Linked DNA regions of Homo sapiens: region 2 is linked to region 1. Evidence: promoter capture Hi-C in 16 types of primary human blood cells and fetal thymus (Javierre and others, 2016). All regions are on one chromosome and are shown on one strand. The core of a region is centred on a gene start or on the middle of the fragment in contact, and the rest is flanking DNA. Distances in the headings are between cores, read along the strand shown.

Region 1 (5,722 bases), core at 1,206-3,705:
GTTTGATGAGTCTCAGGATTTGCACAAACACTGTTGTAGGAGTCTCGACGGGTCTCAAATATATCCATAGTTGGGCCTTTACTACTTTATTGTATTGTATTTTAGAGCTAAATTTAAAGAAGCAACATTTGGGTTTTCCATCCACTTGCATTAGAAAATCAGCTATAAATGAATAAGAAAAGAAAAGTTGCTGAAATTATTTCCCATTAACAAAACCCCTCCATATTAATAGTTGAGCATTTTTTTAAATTAAGATAATGTATGCCTATGCAGTCTTTTAAAATGAAATACCGTGTGGAACTTTATAACTCAAAAAAATGTCAAAGAAAATAATTACCCTAGCTTTTCAGAATTTTTCAGACGTATGTATTTTCAGCTGTTCATCAGGAATCTATTCCCCTTCCAGAGAACTATGGACAAAGGAAGGTTCTATGAAGTAATGAACGCTGAATGAAATTTTAAAATGATGATGATTAGAGAGAACAAGAGACACTGTGGAGGAACAACCACTTAGAATTCTTTGGGAATCTGAGTAGTTACACTTACTGAGCAGCTGTACCAATCAGTCTGGAAGAAGGAACCCTTCCCCCAGGCCTGAATTACCTGGGGACAAGACACACTGAGCAACTTACTGAGCCTCAGGAATTAGTAGAAAACACAGTACATCTGTTACATTTTGGCTTTGGAATAACCTTTTAAAGGAGCAAAACTAAGCAGATAATTAACACAAAAATTTTGATGTTATATTCAGGCTATCTGAAAAGTTCGAAAGTATTGTCTTTAGGGCCAGGCTGTCATGTAAGCACAAGCACTAACAATTTCTTTTATTTTGGTTTTCCAAAATTGTCTATAAAAGGTAAATCTGCTCCAGACCTATTTGATAGCAGAGTCTTAAATGGAAATTCTTTGCTGCATTGTAACCTGATTACTTAATAAGGGAAATAATATTTTAAAACTGTTTGGAGTCTTGTTTAAAGTATATAAAGCATTGTATTAAAGCAAGATAACAGGTAACACAAAATTTTTCTTGCCATGCCTTCTCTGTCAAGGTGCCTGTTTCTCTTTCCTGGAGAAAGTATTCTTTTGAGCTGACTGCAAAAGGAATTGTATGAAATATGTTATCTGTCAGAAGCAGTGTAGATACTACAGGTAAAAGCCCTCCCTCTCAGGAAGAATAAAATATTTTAGAAGGTTATTAAGCACTGTGCCTGCTTGGAAGTACACAAACTGGGTACTCTCAATAATAGTACTATGGTCAAGGTACAAGGAGGACTTTGTGAGCCATAACCTACCCAATTAAAATGTTTATTTCTTAGGCATTTTCTAATATTTAGTTCATGATGATTATTATGCTATGTTTACTTCATTATTGTTCTTACTAACACATTAAGATATTTAATTTTTGCATATTCTTCAGTGTAATAGCTCTCAAAATTAAATTTTTAACTGTGAAGAACAAAAAAATTACTGAGAGAGTTTCAAATAACAGAAATCACTTGAGGTTTTCAGCAGTGCTCAAGTAAGCTTAAACATCCAGCAAGTTTCTTTTTTTTTTTCTGTTATTAGTGAAAAAAACTTATTTTACACAACTAAATACAATTCTAAAATCTAATGTAAGTTTTAAACACTGCTTGTAGTATCTCCCAGTCCTTGCCTTGGTGGTATTATTGTGAAAGCATAAGCATGCTATCTATATTTGCCTTATTAAATTAATGCTATGCAAGTACTTTATTTTTTAGTTTTTTGTCTCTATAAGAAAACAAATAATGCAGCAGATTTTTGTCTCATTAATATATTCTCATGCAATCTTGAAAAAGAGAAACTCTTTTCCTTTCTACTTACATACAGGCCAACAGCTTGTTTAAAAGAGCCTGAAAATAGATCTGTTTCTCATAAACACTAGAACAACAGTCAGCAGAACTGTTGATATACACTAATAGGACTACTTACACTCTGTAGGCATGGTAATGATTGTTTCCGTTGTAGCGTGATAATCGTCATCTTCCAAAGAGCCATCGCTGCTGTCATCCCTCTGGACATCATACTGATCAATCAGTTCCCGGAGTGGAGGAGCTTTGGGTAAAAGTTGTCTTATAACATCTTTGCTGATGTTAGGAGCTGTTTCCAGACGAAGTTTACTGAGGATTTGTATCTTAATGGCTTCTATTCTTGAAGATTTAGTGTTTTGTCTCCAAGTACATGCATTACACAGCCCCTCTTTTTCCACATTTTCTTTTTGCTCACTGTTCTCATTTAGATCCACTGGACCAGCAACAATCAGCATAAACAGGTAAATATAAACACAGAGTTGCAGTTTTTGCATGATTTTAAAATCAATATAATCTTTTTTCTTGTTCTTGTTTCTTCCTTTTACTTTTCTTTTGCTTTTGAGTAATGCCAAGCAAAATTTTAATGCATGTACAGTCTGAGAGACAACTTGCCACACCAGTGAATCTTTTATACTGTATTCCAAGTGGCTTTTTATATTCCAACTTAGATGAGACAAGTGTCGTCAGGATCTATGATTGGCTCTTGCTCCACAATGAATCTCGCTGTCAGAGGTTAAAACCCTGTCTGTCCCAAGTCACCAAGCAGTATTTTGTTACAGTCAAGGGTGAGCTGATTCATTTGACTACTTCATAAAAGAAATAAATCTACAAATAATAAAAGATATTTGTGACATTTGAAAAACAAAAGTCTATGTTGGCAATAATATAAACTGTACTTAAATCTTACTAATCCTCACACAACTCTTATTGTAATTTAAATAAGTCAATTTTAATTTATACTACATATTTAAAATATGAAATATTACTTCCTCAAAAACTAAAATGATTTTATATTGTTTAGGCAAGTATTTGAAGTAGAAAATATTTTTATTTGTTGTATTAAATTATTTTTAGTGCCAAGTAATTAGGAAAATAAAAATTAGGAAGACCTGAATTAAAAGTTAAGATTATGATACTAGTTGAGAATTTTCATCTATAATTTGAGAAACTTGTTTTCTGACTAAATTCTTAGTAAATATTGGAAGTCATTGTTATTATAACATATTGTGCATGGAATTATTTTTACATAGTTTCATGTCTTTTATTAATATGAAAATTATACTGAACTTTTGACTGAGTGCTATTATTTCCTATTCTAAAGATGCAGATTAACATAACTCAGAAGATGTGTTTTTCATTGTTTATTACCAAGAGGGTAATGCCAGCTAGTAGAAAAATCTCTGAACATAGACTAAGATAATGAATTTTATAACTGGCATGGCAGAGATTATTACAGTTTGCCTCAGATTTCCAGCAGTAAATATCCAGAGAGTAAAAAGTGCAGTATCTATTCTCTATAAATTATATCAGAATATTATGAGCACATAAAAGAGAAAGAGCATCATGATAAAGGGGTGACCTTTTGTTGTTTCCCAATACTGCGATATGTTTGCACCCCTTTGCCAATTTCTCATTTTGACCAGAGGGCAGACACCTGGCAGGGATTTGGGGTAAAGTCTGGGAGCAGAGAATAGAGCTTTTTGTTCTCTAAATTTAAGTGGCCTCTGTAGGGATCAAACGTTCAACCTTAGCTTTGGGAGCCACAAGATCTAGTCAAATGAACTATTAAAGAGCTAAGCAAACATAGCCAGCAAGAAACAGAAGATATTTCTAGGCCAAAGGAGATTTCTTTTTCCTACTCCTTTTTGGGAAGCTAAGGATTCCTAAGAGATTTAGTCCATTACTTTTTTTTTCCAAGAGAATACAGTGGCTCATATCAAATATTTATTTTTAAAGTCACTACCATTTTTGCACACTGTACACTAATTTACTGCCTCGGTGCACTAAAATGCAACTCAGTAGCCTGAAAAGTTAATGCATTTTCATCAAATTCTTAAGAGGTATCTACATCTCTTGAGAAAAAAATGGCCTTACATAATGCATTGGATTTGCTCATCATTAAAGATTAAGGAAAACCAGACACAAACCAGATGCCCTGAGGATTTCAGATACTCTTTGTTATGGGACAATATTAGATCTGGCTTCTAAGGTTTTATTTGTTTGGTAAATTCATTTTTCAATGTGTAAATCTTTCAAATGTTATGATCATTGTAACACATGCATCTATACAGTTCCAAGTAAGTCAAACTTTTTTTTTAATATGCTTAGAATTGTATAGCAGTTGAATTGAGAACTCAGGCTCTGGAGTCAGATAGACCTGAGTTCAAATCTCAACTTTGCCACTTCTAACTATGTGATAATGGATGAGATACTTAACTTCCCTAAACTTTAGCTTCCTCATAGGGTTTTGGGGGGATATAATTTAATAATGCATGTAAATTGCTGAATATGGCACCTGTCATATAGTAAGTAATTGATAACTGGCATTTGAGTGCTTGCTCTTTGTTTTATGCAGAAGGGTTTGAGATTATGCTTAAAATTATGCTCCACATGAACTAGAACTGCTTCAGGTCATAGCTGCCAATTATCAGTCACAAAGCCTACTTTCTAGGCCTGTGAGGCAAGTAAAATTTTCTAAGGCAGCCAGGTTACAAGACATGTTCCAGCTCTTTATTCTTATCACCTGGAAAAAAGTGAACAAAGGTTGTCATTTCCGCTAACAGACAATTCTTATTATTCATGATTTCTGTATTCACAAATTTGCCTACTTGCTAAAATTTATCTATGAAACTCAATATTCCTAGCATTTTTCAGTCATTCGCTGGCATTCACAGAGCGGCAAAAAATTTGAGTCCTATCTGACGCACAGGTTCCCAGATGAGGTCAAACAAGGCAGGGTTCCGCCTTTTTGTTTCAGCTCTCATACTATAAACAAATTCCCTTTTTCCCGTCTATTTAGTGCCATGTTTTCACATATTTTGTGCTTCTTTTTTTATTGCTCCTCTTATTGATTTTGCTTTTTAAAAATGGCCCCCAAGCATAGTGCTGACGTGCTGCGTGGTGTTCCTATGTTCCTAATCACAGGAAAGCTGCAATGGAAAGTAGCATGGTGGTTGCCAGGGACTGGGTGAGGCACTGAGGGGTAGTTACTGTGTGATAGATACAGAGTTTCAGTCTGGGAAGATGAAAAATTTCTGAAGATGAATGGTGGTGATGGTTACACAACAGTGTGAATGTGCTTAATGCCACCGAACTGTACACCTAAAAATGGTTAAGATGCTAAATGTTGTGTATATTTACCACAATTTTAAAAGGCTGTGATATGCCTAAGGGAAAAAAGTTCTCATGAAAAAATGCATGTGCTAGATAAGCATCATTCAGGCCTGAGTTATAGTGCTGCTGGCTGTGAGTTCAGTGTTAATGAATGAACAATATATATTAAATAATGTATTTGTAAACAAAAACATACATAAAACAAGGTTATATATTGATTGGGTGATGTAAATGTTATGACCAGAGGCTCAACTAACCCTGTTTTTCCCCTGGGAACAATAGTTCAATATTTGCTAACTCAGTGTTGGCAATGACTTTATAGAACATAACTACTATGAATAGGGAGAATTGACTATATCTAATCAACTTCTCTAGAGAACAGTATTGAATGGGTGAAGAAGAACTGAAGAAATTTAAGTAAGTTTTATTCCTTCTCCAGTGGCAGTGATTGCAACCTTCCTGAGGCCCCAGAATAGAAGGGCTCACCAGCTATAGGAAACTTCAATGTAGTCTGACTGCTGGAGACCCAGTTCTGGCAGTTCTTATCACCAAGGAGACAG
Region 2 (5,569 bases), core at 2,661-5,160, 250 kb before region 1:
CTCTTCATGTCATCTGATATAATGATACCTGTGGGTGGCATAATTGTAGGTACGGGAACAACTTACAACATAATTTTATTTAGGCATTGGAAAATTTGTTACCCCTTTAAAAAACGTAATTTATTATTATTATTCTTATTTTGAGACAGAGTCTTACTCTGTCGCCCAGGCTGGAGTGCAGTGGCGTGATCTCAGCTCAGTGCAGCCTCCACCTCCCAGGTTCAAACAGTTCTTGTGCCTTGGCCTCCCAAGTAGCTGGGATTGCAGGTGTGTGTCACCACACCTGGCGAATTTTTGTGTTTTTTTTAGTAGAGACAGGGTTTTGCCGTGTTGGCCAGGCTGGTCTCGAACTCCTGACCTCAAGAAATCTGCCCTCCTCAGCCCCGCAAAGTGCTGGGATTATAGGCGTGAGCCACTGTGCCCAGCCTAAAAGACATATTTTACAATGTTTAAAAATAGTTTACTAGAAATTCCAGCTCTGGTTTTTCTAGGTGTATATTTGTTTTATGGATTAATTCAGCCATTTAAAATGATTTATGTGTTTAACAGTATGTCACCCTAAGTTGCCCTTGCCTTCTGTTCACTTCCATTTTAAAGCATTTTTTTAAACTAAAAAGAAAAATAGAAATACATCTCTATCTTTTAAATTATTGTACCAAGAACATGGAGTAAATTAATAGCTTTAGTCCTATCATTTTCTGTCATCACTTCTATTCCCTTTACCCTAGATAATCAGTATTAAGCTTTCCAAATTGATTTACCCTCCTAGTCAGATTCTTTTAAGATCTTCCAGTACTTCTGCCTTAGAAATTTCTCATATATCAAAAGTAGTATTTAAAGGGCTGTGATCATTTTCCTACCCTGTTACTAGAGTTTCAGAACATCATGTTCTTTGTAAATTCCTACGGTGTGTGATTGTGCGTGTATTAAAAGATCTTTTCATCTTAATTTAAGAATGGACCTTTTATTCCTTAAATATTTTAAGAAAACTTTCTGATATATTCAAGCAACCATACCTTTACATTAGGAATATAAATAGCTGCCATTATAATAAATGGCATACCATAGGGTCATGTAAAAATATAACAGGGAGCATATTACAACACTGCAGTTTAATTCTGGTGTTTGTAGGATGTGCTAAAGTTAGAGAGCTGAATGATTTTCTTGTAAAACATGATAGTATAATGGGGCCTCCTCCCTATTATTGGCCAATATTACTTGGTGCTTTTAAGGAAGCACATTTCTTTTTTTTTTTTTTTTTTTTTTTTTTTGCTTTTTGAGACAGGGTTCATTTGGAATCAGAAAAGACTTTTCCATAAGTATGTTTTATTCAAACATATAATTCTTATTAATCTCAATTGGCTGGGCACAGTGGCTCACGCCTGTAATCCCAGCACTTTAGGAGGCCAAGGCAGGCAGATCTTGAGGTCAGGAGTTCAAGACCTGCCTGGCCAACAAGGTGAAACCCTGTCTCTCCTAAAAATACAAAAAATTAGCCAGGCATGGGGGCGGGCACCTGTAATCCCACTGAGGCAGGAGAATTGCATGAACCCAGGAGGCGGAGGTTGCAGTGAGCCGAGATTGTGCCATTGCACTCCAGCCTGGGCAACAAGAGTGAAACTCCATCTCAAAATAATGATAATTCTCATTTTACTTTCAGAGGATATTTTGAGGTGCTGAAGCAATAATTTATCAATATACAGATTAGGTATAATGTGGTCTTAGATACATATATTTAAAAATCAACAGGTATCTCTTTTTACTTTCATATACACATTTATATTTTGCCCTCTTGATTTCTGTCTTCCTTCTGTCTAGAGCTACAGTGCATGCCATTATATTTGTCATCTAGGAACTTACTGACTAGTGGGGAACACAGGTGAGTGAATAATGACAAAATGAAGCCACTGACTGCCTAGAGAGAGGTTAGCAAGTTTTTCAGAAAAGATGACGTTTGAGTTTGAAGATGGTAGGAGTTTGAAGATGATAGATAAGAAGACATGGAGTGTAACCTTTCGGCAAGAGAAAAATGATGGATACAGATTTTCAAGAGACCATTGCTATCTGCGTAGCAATGAGGGGAAAAAACATAATTTTAAAAACTTGTAGTCTTTAAACTCATTGAAGACCTGTGTCACAGAGAAGTTTAAATGAACAAAGCTCAAGAGAAACACTACATCCTCCTAGAAAAGAAGTGCCTGGTGGCCATTTGCATCCCTGGGAGCATTAACTGAGTCATAGGTAGATAAAGGAACAAGTCTTCTACAAATAAGGGAGCTTTTATGGTACAAGGAGAAACCAGCTGAACTTTTATAGCCACTTGTGGGCAGACATGACAGATTAGAATATGGGATCCTCAAACAGAGCTAGTCCAACCCCCACACTGAATCTCAGCAGGACTTTTGTTGAGTAAAAAGTGATTAAGAAAATTGGGACTGAGCTAGAGAAAGAAGGATCTTAAAACCTTGCTAGAGAAAGAGACCTGATTCCATCTTCAAGACATTTGAAACCAAAGACATTTGAACTGGAACTAAAAGGTTCAACTCAGATAAACTCCTAGTTAGATTGAAGAGATATATTCTTCACTCTACTCTTGGCAGGAAACAAAGCACTTTCTCTGGGAGAAAATATTTTCTTCTTTAGTATCCTTTTATATTCAATGTTTAGCAAAAATAAAAATTTTGAGAGACTTGAGGAGAGGAAAATGGGATCCGTAATCAAGAGAAACAATAGTGTAAATAAACTCATCAATAACCCAGATGTTTGAATTAACAGACAAAAAAAAAAAAACTTATGTTAAAGAATTTAGAAGAAAAGATGGTCAAAACTGGTAAGAAGGTAGCAAATTTCAGCAGAGAAATGGAAACTAAAAAACTAAATGAAAATTCTAGAACAAAAAGTACTATGAAGAATTAATTGGTTGGACTTATTGGAGTCAGGTCAGTAAAAATAATATGCAAACAGAAGCACGGAAGTAGAATGAGAAAAGAGCATCAGAGACCTGTGGGGCAACATTAAATGGTCTAACATGCCTGTGACTGGAATCTCAGGAGAGAGAATGGGGCAGAACAAAATCTGAAAAAAAAAAAAAAAAAGTCTGAGGGCTGGGCACGGTGGCTCACACCTGTAATCCTAGCACTTTGGGAGGCCAAGGTGGGCAGATCACTTGAAGTCAGGAGTTTAAGACCAGCCTGGCCAAAATGGTTAAACCCCATCTCTACCAAAAATACAAAAATTACCCAATTTTTTTGTGTTTTGGCGCATGCCTGTAATCCTGGCTACTTAGGTGGCTGAGGCAGGAGAATCTCTTGAACCCAGGAATTAGAGGTTGCAGGGAGCCAAGATTGTGCCATACACTCTAGCCTGGGCAACAGAGTGAGACTCTTGTCTTCAACAACAAAAAAAACTAATAACATAATTAAGATTGAAAAAAGAAAATGTCTGAGAATGTTTCAAGATTTTTGAAAAGATACAAAGCCACATACCAAAGAGTGAACAGAACCAAGTGGAAAAAAAATAAACAGAACCACAGCTAACTACATCATAATTGAATTACCGAAAACCAGTAATGTGTTGGACAGGAGTGTTGTTAAGGCAGTGTATTATACTTTAATTGGAAGTGTTTTTTCTTTTTTAGAGATTCATAAAAGTGTGGCGCTATTTACAGCTTTCATGAAATATTAAAAGCAGCCAGAGGAGAAAATACATTGAATTCAGAGGAACAATAAAAATAATGACAGCTGACTTCCCATTGGAAACATAGAAGTCCAAAGAAAATGGAATGACATCTTTTAAGTTTTTAAATTTAAAATTACAGGCGGGTGCGGTGGCTCACGCCTGTAATCCCAGCACTTTGGGAGACCGAGGCAGGTGGATCATCTGAGGTCAGGAGTTCAAGACCAGCCTGGCCAACATGGCGAAACCCTGTTTCTACTAAAAATACGAAAATTATCTGGGTGTGGTGGTGCATACCTGTAATCCCAGCTACTCGGGAGGGTGAGGCAGGAGAATTGCTTGAACCCAGGAGGCGGAGGTTGCAGTTAGCCGAGATCACGCCACTGTACTCCAGCCTGGGTGACAGAATTAGACTCTCAAATGAAACAAAACAAAAAGACAAACAAAATTTGATTTAGACTTCTATAACCAGTAAAAATGTTTAAAGAATGAGTACAAAGTGAAGGCAATTTCATACAAATAAAACAGAGAATCTCCCACCATGCACTACAAGAAATACTAACAGGGTTTTTAAGCTGAAGGAAAATGATTCTACATGGCAACCTGAATCTGCAAGAAGGAAAGAAAAGCACTAGAAAATGTGTGGAAAAAATGGAAAGACGAGTATTTTAAAAACTTATTTTACAAAAACAAAATCAGTATATTGTGGAGTTTATCACACAGAAAAGTAAAACGCATGACAAAAACTTTACAAAAGGTAAGAGTAAATGAGGTACACTATTACAAAGTTGTTACATTGTGAAATATAATTTATTTCATGGTAATCAAGGTAAACTGATAATTTAAGAATATATGTTATACTCACTGAAAGTAATACAAAGTTATATAGCTAAAAAGCCAATTAAAGCATATAAAATGGAGTACTGAGAATGACATGACAGAATTCAGTGTAAGGATTTTGGAGTAGTAGAAGCAGGAGGTTTAGCTTAGAAAGTGGTAGCGTAGGTGTTAGATTATGAAGGGCCTTTTATATCATACCAGGTAGTTTGTACCTTACCATTATGAGCCACTGGAATTTATTTTAGGCAGACGATTGATATCATGTTATTTACAAAATTAACTAGTAGGATTAATATGTTATTTACAAGATTAACTGGTAATTTCTACTATAAATTTTGTCTTACTGTAAGATACTGTCTTCAACTACTAGGGTTTGAGGGGAGGGAAAGGACTTGACATAAATTGGAGAGACTCCTAGGATAGAATAGATAGACCTATAAGACTTATGCAATATTGCAGTAAGAAGTAGAGGGAAGAATCAATTCTTTCTGTAGTATCTGCCTTTGGAAACCATTGGATGTTGGTGTTATATGAGAAAGGAAGGTTAGGTGTAGTATCAAACCCAAGGAAGAAGATAATGAGTTCCAGCCTGAGTGTGGTCGATTTCATATACCTTGAGGATAGCCAGGTGGAGTTAATGAGTGAGCATCTGTCTATAAAACTTAAAAGAGTAGTGTAGGTCTCAGATATGTGTCTTAGTTAACCAATTCTAAGATGCACATTTTGTCACACTTGACGTCCCTGGAAACAGATTGTGGCTTATAATTAATGGCCTCCCAAAATCCTTTTTGGAAAAGCAGCAGTTTTGGATGTTCTTATTGTTGTATCAATTGAATTTTGTGCAATATTAATAATTCATGTGTTGATTGGAGGAATAAACAACTTCATATTTTATTGCAACAATTGCTTTATGAGAGTTAAAAAGGGAAATAGTCACAACTAAATGAAGCTGCATTAAGTGCCAAAGGATTGCTGTCATATGCAAAGCATTGAAATTGATGGCACCAGAAGAAATTGCCATATTCATGGGAGTAAAGAAATTTCAAAGGAATGA

The links. Contacts are between HindIII fragments. The CHiCAGO score rates a contact against its expected background, and 5 or more counts as called.
Region 2: a contact is called between a fragment that was not itself captured here and the fragment with the promoter of MSTN in region 1, in 5 of 17 cell types (M1 macrophages, naive B cells, total B cells and 2 more). The highest score is 7.5, in M1 macrophages.

What each region holds. Positions count from the first base shown.
Region 1 is chr2:190,060,274-190,065,995 of GRCh38, forward strand. MSTN (myostatin) reads right to left here and starts at 2,456. Exons shown (of 3, transcript NM_005259.3): 1 at 1,951-2,456; 2 at 1-162. The coding sequence starts at 2,323. It also overlaps a transcript of AKAP19 not described here. The HindIII fragment of the contact is 9,340 bases long and covers 1,523-5,722 here.
Region 2 is chr2:189,808,204-189,813,772 of GRCh38, forward strand. All of the region lies in intron 4 of PMS1 (PMS1 homolog 1, mismatch repair system component), which reads left to right. Among named protein-coding and RNA genes, the nearest start is that of PMS1, 27 kb to the left of the region's middle. The HindIII fragment of the contact is 6,338 bases long and covers 742-5,569 here.